Linked DNA regions of Homo sapiens: region 1 is linked to region 2. Evidence: promoter capture Hi-C in 16 types of primary human blood cells and fetal thymus (Javierre and others, 2016). All regions are on one chromosome and are shown on one strand. Each heading gives the region's core, a stretch centred on a gene start or on the middle of the fragment in contact. The rest is flanking DNA. Distances are from core to core; before and after follow the strand shown. Region 1 holds the start of RASAL1 (RAS protein activator like 1). Region 2 holds the start of OAS1 (2'-5'-oligoadenylate synthetase 1).

Region 1 (5,978 bases), core at 822-3,321, 230 kb after region 2:
AGCCTCCAGGAAGAGCCCCTTTGAAGAAGGGTGCTGACAGCTAGGGAAACTGAGGCAGGGTGGCCAGAACCCCCCCTGCCAGCTGGGGCTAAGTGACTCCTCCCCACCCTTGCTCTAGGGCATGACCTATTTCATAGCTCACTGGCCCAGGAATTGGGGGCAGGAAGTTTGGCCAAGAGCTGCAGGAACCAGGCATGACTCAAGTCCCTTCTCCAGAAGAGCAGCAGGTTACCGTAAGCCAGTGTCCAGGTGCAGGGGTGACACCCATCGCCCCCTCATGACCTCTCACCCAGGGCTGGTGGAGGGGCCAGAGCTCAGTGAGTGAGAACCCCGTTTCTGGAAAGAACTCCTTTCACCACCTAGCAGCTGCCAGGCATCCAGCCTGGCCTCAATGCCCTAACAGTGTAGGCCGTCTCATTCCCAGGGCCTCTGAGGGGACATCTTAGAAAGAGTCTGGTGGGGGGGCTTGTCCAGCCACTGAACTGTCAGAGCACACACTCTGCTTCTCATTCAGGGTGTGTATATTTGGAGTAGCCAATGAGGATGAAGGGTGGCAAAAATTGCTCTCAACAGCTGCCCCCTTGACGCAGCTGCAGTGTTTTGGGGGTTGGGAATGTCATAAAATCAGGCAGGAAAGTCCTCTCTGGGAGCCCACACCTTGGGGAATCAGCACAGAGCTAAGACTGAATCTTGACACAGGTGAAGGCTCCCAATCCATGCTCCTGCTCACCTGGGCCACAGGGGAACTCCTAACAGGTCCTCCACCCTCCCAGCTGGATGGGAGACCCCAGGCAACCAGATGGGGACTCCGGTCCAGAGCTCTCATTGCCCAAATGGGAAACCAAGGCCCAGAGAGAAGCAGGTTCAAGGTCACACAACAAATGTCCTCCAGAGGATCCCACACCTGTCGCAGGTGCTAAGGCCCTCAGAGCCCCTTCTGGGCACTATGCCAAGCAGGAGGGGGAACCCGCCCCCCATATTCTGCTGATTCAGCAGCTGCTGACTCAGCCCTGGGGGAAGCATAGCTTGGGACTAGTAGTGAAGGGAGCCGTAGGGTCCCCCAGTCCCATTGCACCTGGCTGGGGAGGGGGTCGCAGCAAGGAATTGGCTCTTCAAGCAGCTCAGCACCCGGGGAAGGCCCACACGAGGCTGGGAGCCACAAGACTGGGGAGCTCAGGGCTTGGGGTCAAAAGGACCCTGGAGGGCCACCTGGTGACACTCTGCAAACCTAAGCACCAGATCCACACAGGATGTTAGGGCTCATCTGATCCCAGGCCCTCTCCAAGGGTCCTCCCCAGGGTTCCCTTGCTAGGCCCCCACCCACGCCTGGAGGAGCCACCTCCAACATCTGCCTGGACTAAGGAAGAGACCCCCCGCTTTCTCCCCTCCCAGATCTGACAGAATATGGCCCTCTAATCCCCTCTTCAGCTCTGGACGACCCCCTTTAGTACATCCCGGGAACAAAGACACCCCCTCCCCTGCCCGGGGGTGAGGCGGGGCATCTGCTAACTCTAGGCGCCCCCCTCCCACCGGGACAGCCATGGGCATGCGGCCTCTCGCCCCTTTAAAGCGGAACTGCCCCAAGACCAGTCTTGGACAAGAACCCCTCGCCCTCCTGCCAACCCGCCCTGGCACGCGGAAAGGGCGACGTCGGCCCCACCCCAGGCCTTGCGCGCCCCTCACCCAGAAGCGCCCGAGGAGTACTCACACGTCCTTGGCAGGCAGCGCGCGGCCCTCCACCACGCGAACATTCAGGGAGCTGCTCTTGGCCATGGCGCCTAGCCACAAACTTTCCAGGCAGAAGGGCGCTCAGGTTCCGAGGCTGGACCAGGGGACGTCTACATGTCACCTGCTTCAAGCCTGGCTCCCTGCCTCGTGGTCCCAGTGCCGCCTGTCCGAGACCCGGGTAGCTGGATGGGAGATTTCCGAAAGAGGAGAAGGTGTAGGTGCCCGGGGAGGGAGCGCCCGTCCGGACTCTACAGGTAGGAGCCGTGCTCCGAGCAGGAGGAGCGCGCAGGGGGCGCAGCGGGCTCTTGCCGAGGCGTCTGGAGCTCCAGACAAGCAGGCTGGGCGGGCAGGGGGCGGGAGGGGCGGCCCAGGGACCTCCCCACAATCCCGCCTCCAATGGGGTCCCCCACCTGACCCCGGGCCCCCTCGCGCGCCCTCTACCGGCACCCCAGTCATGCGCGCCAGAGCGCACGGGCGGCGGAGACAAGGGTGCACCGCCAGGTGGGGAGGGGCCCCCGTCCTGATGGGCGTGGCCGCTGGCTCCTGGTGAGTTGGCATTGGGCTTAAAAGACATGGTCTGTGCCCCCGCCTGTCCCTCATCCAACATATTCACACCTCTCCGCCCCCACCCCTCCTTGCCTACCATGCAGACACCTGCCTCCTCTCTCCAACCTCCGCGCCCCCCGGTCCAGGAGCAAGTATTAGTGGTGGGTGGGAGGCGTCGCCAGAGAGAGGGTCGCATGTTCCCTGGGGGTCCGTTCAGAGTCAAGGGAGGGGCCTTGAACATCCCCTTCCATCTCGTTCTAGTTTCCAGTTAAACACAGAACCCAGACTCTGCTCTAACGTCACGGGCTGGCACTGCGGGGGAGGAAGCCGCGGCCAGATGGGGGAGGGGAAGGCTTGAAGATAACCACTACAGCGATGATAAAAAGTCATCTACAGTTGTTTGAACACTTCATGGGTGCCAGGCACTGTTCTAAGCGCTTTACTGGGATTAGCTCATTTTTGTCTCCAGATGTGCACTACACACTACTCCACTGTTACCCCATTATCCGCAGTTTATGGATAAAGAAACTGAGGTTCAGAGGGATTAAATAACTTGGCAGAGGTCTCACAGTCAGTAACTGATTTGCCTTCCAGGGGTTCGAATCCTGGCTCTGCCATTTGGTAGCTGTCTGGACTTGGGTAAGCCATTCAACCTCTCTGTGCTTTGGTTTGGTTTTCTCATCTGTTGAGTGAGGATGACATTGCATTTCAGTCACAGGATTTTGAAAGAATTAAAAGAGTTAATGAAGATAAAAGTCTCAGGACAGTGACAAGTACCTAATACACGTCCAGAAAGTGTTTGATATTCTGATTGTTGTCCTTTGAGGCGTGGGCCACGCGTCACCTCTCCTGGGAAGGCTTCCAGGATGCCCTTCCACTCCGGTAGAGATTTTCTTTCCTTTCTCTCTGCTCCAGTGGCTCCAGGTTTGTACATTTTTCTGATTTTAAATGAGATAATATGACAGGCAGGGCCTGTCCCAGAACAGATCCGTTCGCACACTTATTTCTCCCTGTGAATTCATTGTTGACCTGCCCAAGACCTCTTAGAAAGGCCAGGCACCAATGGGAGTGCCCCTGCAGACTGAGTGCGGGAGCCAACGCCCAGACCGGTGAGACCAGGAGTGCCCTTCCTGGATCCGTCAGCAGCCCAATGGTCTGCTTCCCAGTCTCCCTTCTTGACTCCCCACCCAGCAACCCAGACAGGCTGATGAGGAACTCAGAGCCCTGGAATTCCTTCCCCAGCTGGTGGCTGCCTGGTGAGTCTCTGACCCACCAGAGATGGGGTCTCAGTTAATCCCATCTGGGAAATGGACCTAGCAGAACAGGCTCCAAGGCTTAGAAGTATTGCAACATCCTCAGCGGGGCATGAGGGGTAATCCAGGGTTAGATCCAGAACAGTAATAGCCCCAAAGGAGTCATCCCACTGTGATTTTTTTTTTTTTTTTTGCCCAGCTGGAGGGCAGGGCTCGATCTTGGCTCACTGCAACTTCCACTCCTGGGTTCAAGTGATTCTCCTGCTTCAGCCTCCTGAGTAGCTGGGACTACAGGCACCCACTACTATGCCCGGTTAATTTTTGTATTTTTAGTAGATTTTTATAGTTTGTATTTTTATATCACCATGTTGGCCAGGCTGGTCTTGAACTCCTGATCTCAAGCAATCCACCCACCTCAGCCTCCCAAAGTGCTGGGATTATAGGCGTGAGCCACCATGCCTGGCCCACTGTGATCTTTATCAGTTACCCCAGATTCTCTCCAAAGAAAATATACCACCTAAGGTGGTGGGGGGAATGGTACTTAAGGTATTTGCTATGTAACTGAAGCTTTAAGACGGGAATCCTGCCCCCCGCCCCACACCGCCCCCCACCACACACATTTAGTGGAAGCTACTGTTTGAGCCTTTTTCTTCTGTGAGCCTGCAAAGACCGCAGACAGGCCTCCAGACCCCCAGGACCCCTTTTGGAACCCCCTGATGATGGAACCTAAGGGGCCTGTTCCTCCAGCCCCCATGGGATGCCAGCCAAACTGCCACGCAGCCATCTTGGCCCATCTTCCAGAGCTAAGCAGGAAGTCATATACCCAAACACCCTTCCCCAGCTCCCCACGGGGAAATACCAAGGATATAGACTGTGCCAGCTGGGCCTCCAGCAAGCCAGCGCTGTTACCTGTCCAATATCTGGAGGGTGACCCCAAAATTTGCCTGGGGCAATGGCCACAGTCCCCAAACTTTGCACATGGCCCGGCCATTTCCTGTTGTTCTGAGAATCTCTGACCTGAAACTAGCAGGGAGTTGGAGGTTGCCTAGGGCAGTCCATGCCAAGGGACCGAAGCGGAAAAGGCAGACCAGAGAGAGTGTGTGACCTGCGCGGGACCATCCAGCTAGGCAGGGAGAGGGCAGGCTGGTGATTCTCCCAGGGTTATTATGAGAGTTAATCTCGAGGGCAGCGTAAGGCACTTAGCATCATTCCTGGCACATAGTAGGTGCTCAAGAAATGGCCAAACCCCAACCCCAAGCTCCTTAAAGGTAAATTCATAACCATCTCTTGCAATACCCATGCGATACACACAGCAGGTGTTTCATAAAGACTTAAGTGGGAAGAAATGCTGAGCTCAGGGTTTACCAGAAGAGGGTTTAGCATCAGGCTGACCTAGGATTGAACCCTGGCACCTGTACTTCCAAGCCAAGTGTTCTTGGGCAAGTGAGTTACTCTCTCAGTGCCTCAGTTTCTTCATCTGTAAAGTGGGGATACTAATAGAATCCACCTCTAGGATGAGCATGAGGCTGGAAAAGAAATAAGTGCCAGGTGTTTAGCACAGCCTGGCATACTACAAGCACTCAATAAATGTCATGGCCATTGTGGGACGTCCTGTGCCTGATACTGAGCCCCATTTGGTGGCTTAGCTCTGAGGCTGGGTCCTGGGGACATTGCCCAGGTAGAATGCAGGCCCAGCCCCAGATTCCAGACATGGATGAAGGCCCACACTTCAGTAGCCAGGGCAGTTCCAGATCGCTGAGCTGGGGGAATCTGAGGATTTTCATCCTGGCTGAGAAATCTGATAGACAGCTTCCAAGATCAGGGCTCCGGCCTCCCCTGTGGGCCCTCTGTCCAGGACAGGCTGAGTCTTTGCTTGATCTGAGATGCTGAGCCCTCTGACCAGGACTGGCTGAGTCTCCACTTGATCTGAGATGCTGGGCCTGTGGCCCAGGGAGGGCTCACAGGCATGGAGGAGAGAGGGCTCCTCATCCCAGAAGAGGAATCGGGCCTGGGCATGGTGGGGGCGTCCTGGAGCCCGCTCCCATCGGCACTGGATTCGACTGTGCACATAACTTTCCAACTCCATGTTTAGCCACATCACATGGGAACTTGAAATTGACTAGGGTAGGATTTACAGTATGGAAACTGGCAAATGCTACATTTGTTTTTGAGAGTCAGTTTACCAATACACTACTGGGCACAGGAATCCCCAGTCACATAGCTCTCTAGACACCGTTCCTGAATTCAACACCCTTAAGACTTTTCTCGTATCCTCCCAATCTGCTCCCCCAACACACACTGCCTTTGCTCGATCAGTCATTTCCCTCAAGAAGGCCTTTACAGGGCCAGACATGGTGGCTTACCCCTGTAATCCCAACACTTTGGGAGGCCAAGGTGGGAGGATCGCTGAGGCAAGGAGTTTGAGACCAGCCTGAGCAACATAGCAAGACC
Region 2 (5,397 bases), core at 744-3,243:
GGAATTAAAAAAGAAACCCACAAAAGAAAGATAGCTGGAAAATTCCAAAATATATGGAGATTAAAGAACACACCTCTAAATAACACATGGGGCAAGGAAGAAGTCTCAAGAGAAATTTTAAAATATTTTGGGCCAGGCTCAGTGGCTTACGCCTATAATCCTAGCACTTTGGGAGGCTGAGGCAGATGGATCGCTTGAGCCCAGGAGTTCGAGACCAGACTGGGCCACATGCAGAAACCCCATCTCTACAAAAAATACAAAAATTAGCCAGGCATGGTGGCATGTACCTGTAGTCCCAGCTACTTGGGAGGCTGAGGTGGGAGGATCACCTGAGCCCAGGAGGTCAAGGCTGCAGTGAGCTAAGATTGTGCCACTGCACCCCAGCCTGGGCAACAGAGTGAGACCCTGTCTCAACAAAATAAATAAATATATTTTGAATTAAATTAAAATGAAAAAACAGCCTATCAAAAAGTGTGGGATGTAGTGAAAGTAGTGTTTAGAGGGAAAGTTATAGCATTGAATGCATATATTAGGAGAAGAAAGATCTAACTCAGAGAGGGATGAACAGGTGAGGCATAGGGGATTTTAAGGTAGTGAAACTCTTGCAGGGCAGGGGAGCCCCAAAACTGGGACACCGTCCGGGAAGGCTCTTGGCTTCGTCCAGGAAGGAATTCAAGGGTGAGCTAGAGGAGGAAGAAAAAGGTTTATTGAGGCAGCAGGGTTACAGTTCTGTGACTGTCCCTGCAGAGCAGGGCCACCCCATAGGCAGTGCCTGGAGAGCAGCAGCTCAGGGCACTTCTATAGTCACATTCATACCCACTTTTAAATACGTGCAAATTAAGGGCAGGTTATTCAGAAATTTCTAGAAGAAGGGTGGTAACTGGGTCATTGCCAGGGAATGAGTAAACTGTTCATGGTGCTGGTGCTCATGCCAGCCAGTCTTCAATCTGGCCCTGAGTCAAGCCCCACCTCCTATCTCAAAACTATTCTGCATGGTGCTGTAATGGTGGATACATGACATGTTATGTTTGGCAAAATCCATAGAACTGTAGGACACAAGAGTGAACCTTAATGTAAACCTTAATGTAAATGGACTTTTGTTAATTATGATGTATTAATATCAATTCATCAATTGTAACAAATGTATCACAGTACTGTTAATAATAGAGGAACTTATTGGCAGGAGAGAGAGCTTATGGAACTCTCTGCACATTCAGCTCAATATTTCTGTAAGCCTAAAACTGCTGTGAGAAATAAAATCCAACCTGGGCAACATAGCAAGACCTTGTCTCTACAAAAAATAAAAAATGAGCTGGGTGCAGTAACGCATGCCTGTAGTCCCAGGTATTCAGGAGGCTGGGGCAGGAGGATCCCTTGAACCCAGGAAGTTGAGGTTGCACGAGTCATGATCATGCCCCTGCACTCCAGCCTGGATAACAAAGCAAGATCCTGTCTCCAAAAAATAATAAAATAAAATAAAAATCTACTAATTGAAAGGGAAAAAAGCATAGTATAATACCATTCTTAACAAAAAGAAAAGAGACCTGTGTTTGTGTGTGTGTTAACATTTGAAAAAAATCTGGAAAGCTCTATATCAAAACGTTTATAGAGGCAATTTTGTAGTGTTAGAATCATAGATGATCTTTCCACTTCCTGGTTTTTCTGACTTTTTTTCTTTTTGCAGTGGGCATGTATTGCTGGAAAATACCACAGACAACTGTGAAAGGATTTCATCAACAACAAAAAAAAGATAAAGAAGGAAACACAAAATCTGTTAAATAAGATTTATGTTGGCTGGAGGTTAAAATGCATTTCCAGAGCAGAGTTCAGAGAAAGGCTGGGCTGCTTGTTGCTGGCTAAAGGACAAAGGGTAAGTTTCAGGAAGCAGAAGAGTGAGCAGATGAAATTCAGCACTGGGATCAGGGGAGTGTCTGATTTGCAAAAGGAAAGTGCAAAGACAGCTCCTCCCTTCTGAGGAAACGAAACCAACAGCAGTCCAAGCTCAGTCAGCAGAAGAGATAAAAGCAAACAGGTCTGGGAGGCAGTTCTGTTGCCACTCTCTCTCCTGTCAATGATGGATCTCAGAAATACCCCAGCCAAATCTCTGGACAAGTTCATTGAAGACTATCTCTTGCCAGACACGTGTTTCCGCATGCAAATCAACCATGCCATTGACATCATCTGTGGGTTCCTGAAGGAAAGGTGCTTCCGAGGTAGCTCCTACCCTGTGTGTGTGTCCAAGGTGGTAAAGGTGAGTCCAGGCCTGCCTGGCCAGGGGAGGGGTGGCTGAATGTGCAAGAGTTGAGATTGAGAATGAGAGAGAGAGAGAGAGAGAAGCAAAAACCTAGAACCCAGGGTGCAAATGTGAGTACAGAGAGCTGAGATCTTCTGGGATGGTGGTTTCTTATTTATCCACACAGCATGTTAAAATAGATTCTGGGGTGAAATCCTACATCCCTATTATTAACAAGTGACCCTCCCCCCTACTTCCCGCTGAAGTTTATGAACCACTGTCCTGGGCGATGCCCATTTCAGAAATAGGGAACTGAATCCCAGCTCTGGTAAACAGTTTGCTAATTCGTGGCCAGGCTAGGGGCTCACCATTTCTGCAGTGAAGAATCATATGTTTTGAAAGCAAATAGCACCTGCTGGCTGCAAGACCTTGAGCAAGTCACTTAACTACTCTGTGTTCCAATTTCCTCAGCCATAATCCCCAATACTGTTGCAGTCTTGCCAGTGCACCTTAATGTAGCAGCTTCTCACTGAATTAGTACCCAAGGTTCTTTGTCCTGCATCCAAGAAAATTAAGGAACATGGACACAAACGTGAGCTTGGAGCAAAAGTTCAGTAAGCAAAAGAAGAAAGCTGTCTCCACTGTGGAGAGGGAAGTCTGAGTGGATTGCCAGATTGCAGCTGAATGCAAAAAACTTTTATAAGAAACCACTCTCCTCCCTGTAACTGTTTGAGAAACTTTTTATCAGTAAAGCTGTGCAACTTCCCTTACCTTATGCAGCTGTGGGTATATCTCTAGGCAAGCATAAAGCGCTGCTTCTCTTGTATGTATAACTGTGGATTTGTTTTAGGTAAGTCCCACTCCCTGCGCCAGTTTCAGGCAGGCCGCTCCTCCAGGGCCCAGCCTTGACCATTTACCTAACTGATTTTTCCTCTACTTTCCCTCAATACCTCATAGGGCCGTGTAGATTAAGTAAAATAGTAAGTGTGAACCACCCAGCATAAGCTAGTCCTGGGCATCGTAAAGGACAATGGGAAAAGAACACAGATCCTGGAAGAAGGCCCCCAGGTTTGAATTGTATTTGCCACCTACTAGCTGGGTGATGGGGCTGATATATTATCTCACTGAGCATCCATTTTCCCATCTGTAAAATGGGAACTAATGATAATGGCATCCAAATCATAGCATCATTGTGAGCATTATAGGAGTTTAAGACATGCAATGCCTTCAGAACAGTGGCTAGTGCTCCATAATGTTAGTGATTGCTCCTGTCATTTTATTTAGGGAGGTTTGCCTCACTAAGCATCAATTATTATTTTTGTCGTCTTTTTCAGGGTGGCTCCTCAGGCAAGGGCACCACCCTCAGAGGCCGATCTGACGCTGACCTGGTTGTCTTCCTCAGTCCTCTCACCACTTTTCAGGATCAGTTAAATCGCCGGGGAGAGTTCATCCAGGAAATTAGGAGACAGCTGGAAGCCTGTCAAAGAGAGAGAGCATTTTCCGTGAAGTTTGAGGTCCAGGCTCCACGCTGGGGCAACCCCCGTGCGCTCAGCTTCGTACTGAGTTCGCTCCAGCTCGGGGAGGGGGTGGAGTTCGATGTGCTGCCTGCCTTTGATGCCCTGGGTGAGAGCTCCCAGCTTCTTTTTCTCCCTCTTCCCATTTCTGAGCAGAAATCTCCCACAGTTTGAGAGCTTTTTGCCCCAACAGGGCATCTCTCTAAAGCAGGGTGGGAGGAGATCTTAGGATCTGTCCCGGGGCAAGAATGAATACGGTCATGATCTATCACAGGAGAGACATTAAACAGCAAATTGGCATAATGTGGGGACAAAGACATTTCTTACAGAACATCTGCAAGGCTTACTGGTTCTGTTTAAGGCAAAATGTGTGAATTTTATCTTTCTAAAATCAGGCAGCAAAGATGTGGCTTAAAGTTCATGTTACTCTCATCTTTGTCCCAACATGAGATCTCATCAAACGTATGCAGCACGTTGGGAGATAGATATTTATAATTTGCAGGAACATTTGGACAGGAAGTGTAACCTCTCAGAGGCTCCCTTGCCACATCAGGAGAATTGGTAAAACCACACTACCTGTATCATATCATTATTTTAAGTGATAAATGATCATCTACATTCAGCTCTGATGAGTAATAGGTGTTCAAAAATAGGAACTTCCAGCCAAGTGTGGTGGCTCATGCTTGTAATTCCAACACTTTTGGAGGCTGAGGCAGGAGGGTCGCTTGAGCCCAGGAGTTCAAGACCAGCCTGGGCAGCAAAGTGAAACCTCATCTCTACTAAAAATTTTAAAACATTAGCCAAGTGTGGTGGTACATGCCTGTGGTCGCAGTTATTCAGGACGCTGAGACTGAACGATCACATGAGGCCAGCCAAGGATTCGAGGTGTCAGTGAGCCACGAATGTACCACTGCACTCCATCCTAGGCACAGAGCAAGAGCAAGACCCTGTCTCAATCAATCAGTCAATCAGTCAAAACTATGAATTTCCCAGCTGTATATGAAGGCACCTCAAAACACCACAGTGAACTCACAGAGGGACACGGAATAGTTTAGATTTTAATTTTTTGAGGGAAATGCGATGACATCTGTCACACACCGCACAAACGGCTACTATTAAACTGAACTTACTGATTAGTGGCTACTAATTAATAGTTGGTCATTAAGCAGTAATTAGTGATTAATTATCAAGTAATTAGGACTTAATTAAAGGAACTGTCACAGTTTCCTTTAGTCCTAGGGCAGCCATGAAAAAAAAAATGCTGACTCTCCAAAGACACCAGGGTATGAGAAAGTTTTGGATTCTCTCCTTTGTGCCATCTCCTGTGTTGGGGGCTGAAGTACAATGGTTGTAAAAGACAAGAGGGAGAAGGCTGGTCACAGTGGCTCACGCCTGTAATCTCAGCACTTTGGGAGGCCAAAGTGGGGGGATCACTTGAAGTCAGGAATTCAAGACCAGCCTGGCCAACATGGTGAAATCTCACATCTACTAAAAATACAAAAATTAGCTGGGCGTGGTGGTGTGTGCCTGTAATCACAGCTACTCGGGAGGCTGAGGCAGGAGAATTGCTTGAACCCAGGAGATGGAGGTTGCAATGAGCCAAGATCATGCCATTGCACTCCAGCCTGGGCAACAGAGTGAGACTCCATC

Evidence for each region. The method cuts DNA at HindIII sites, captures the fragments that hold promoters and counts their contacts. A CHiCAGO score of 5 or more calls a contact.
Region 1: a contact is called between the fragment with the promoter of RASAL1 here and the fragment with the promoter of OAS1 in region 2, in 8 of 17 cell types (total CD4 T cells, naive CD8 T cells, activated CD4 T cells and 5 more). The highest score is 8.4, in total CD4 T cells.

The regions. Positions count from the first base shown.
Region 1 is chr12:113,133,690-113,139,667 of GRCh38, forward strand. It overlaps RASAL1 (RAS protein activator like 1), which reads right to left and starts at 2,072. Exons shown (of 21, transcript NM_001301202.2): 1 at 1,709-2,072. The coding sequence starts at 1,773. RefSeq lists a silencer at 2,059-2,198. The HindIII fragment of the contact is 4,772 bases long and covers 1-4,092 here.
Region 2 is chr12:112,904,969-112,910,365 of GRCh38, forward strand. It overlaps OAS1 (2'-5'-oligoadenylate synthetase 1), which reads left to right and starts at 1,994. Exons shown (of 6, transcript NM_016816.4): 1 at 1,994-2,251; 2 at 3,568-3,856. The coding sequence starts at 2,072. RefSeq lists an enhancer at 1,835-2,274. The HindIII fragment of the contact is 17,002 bases long and covers 1-5,397 here.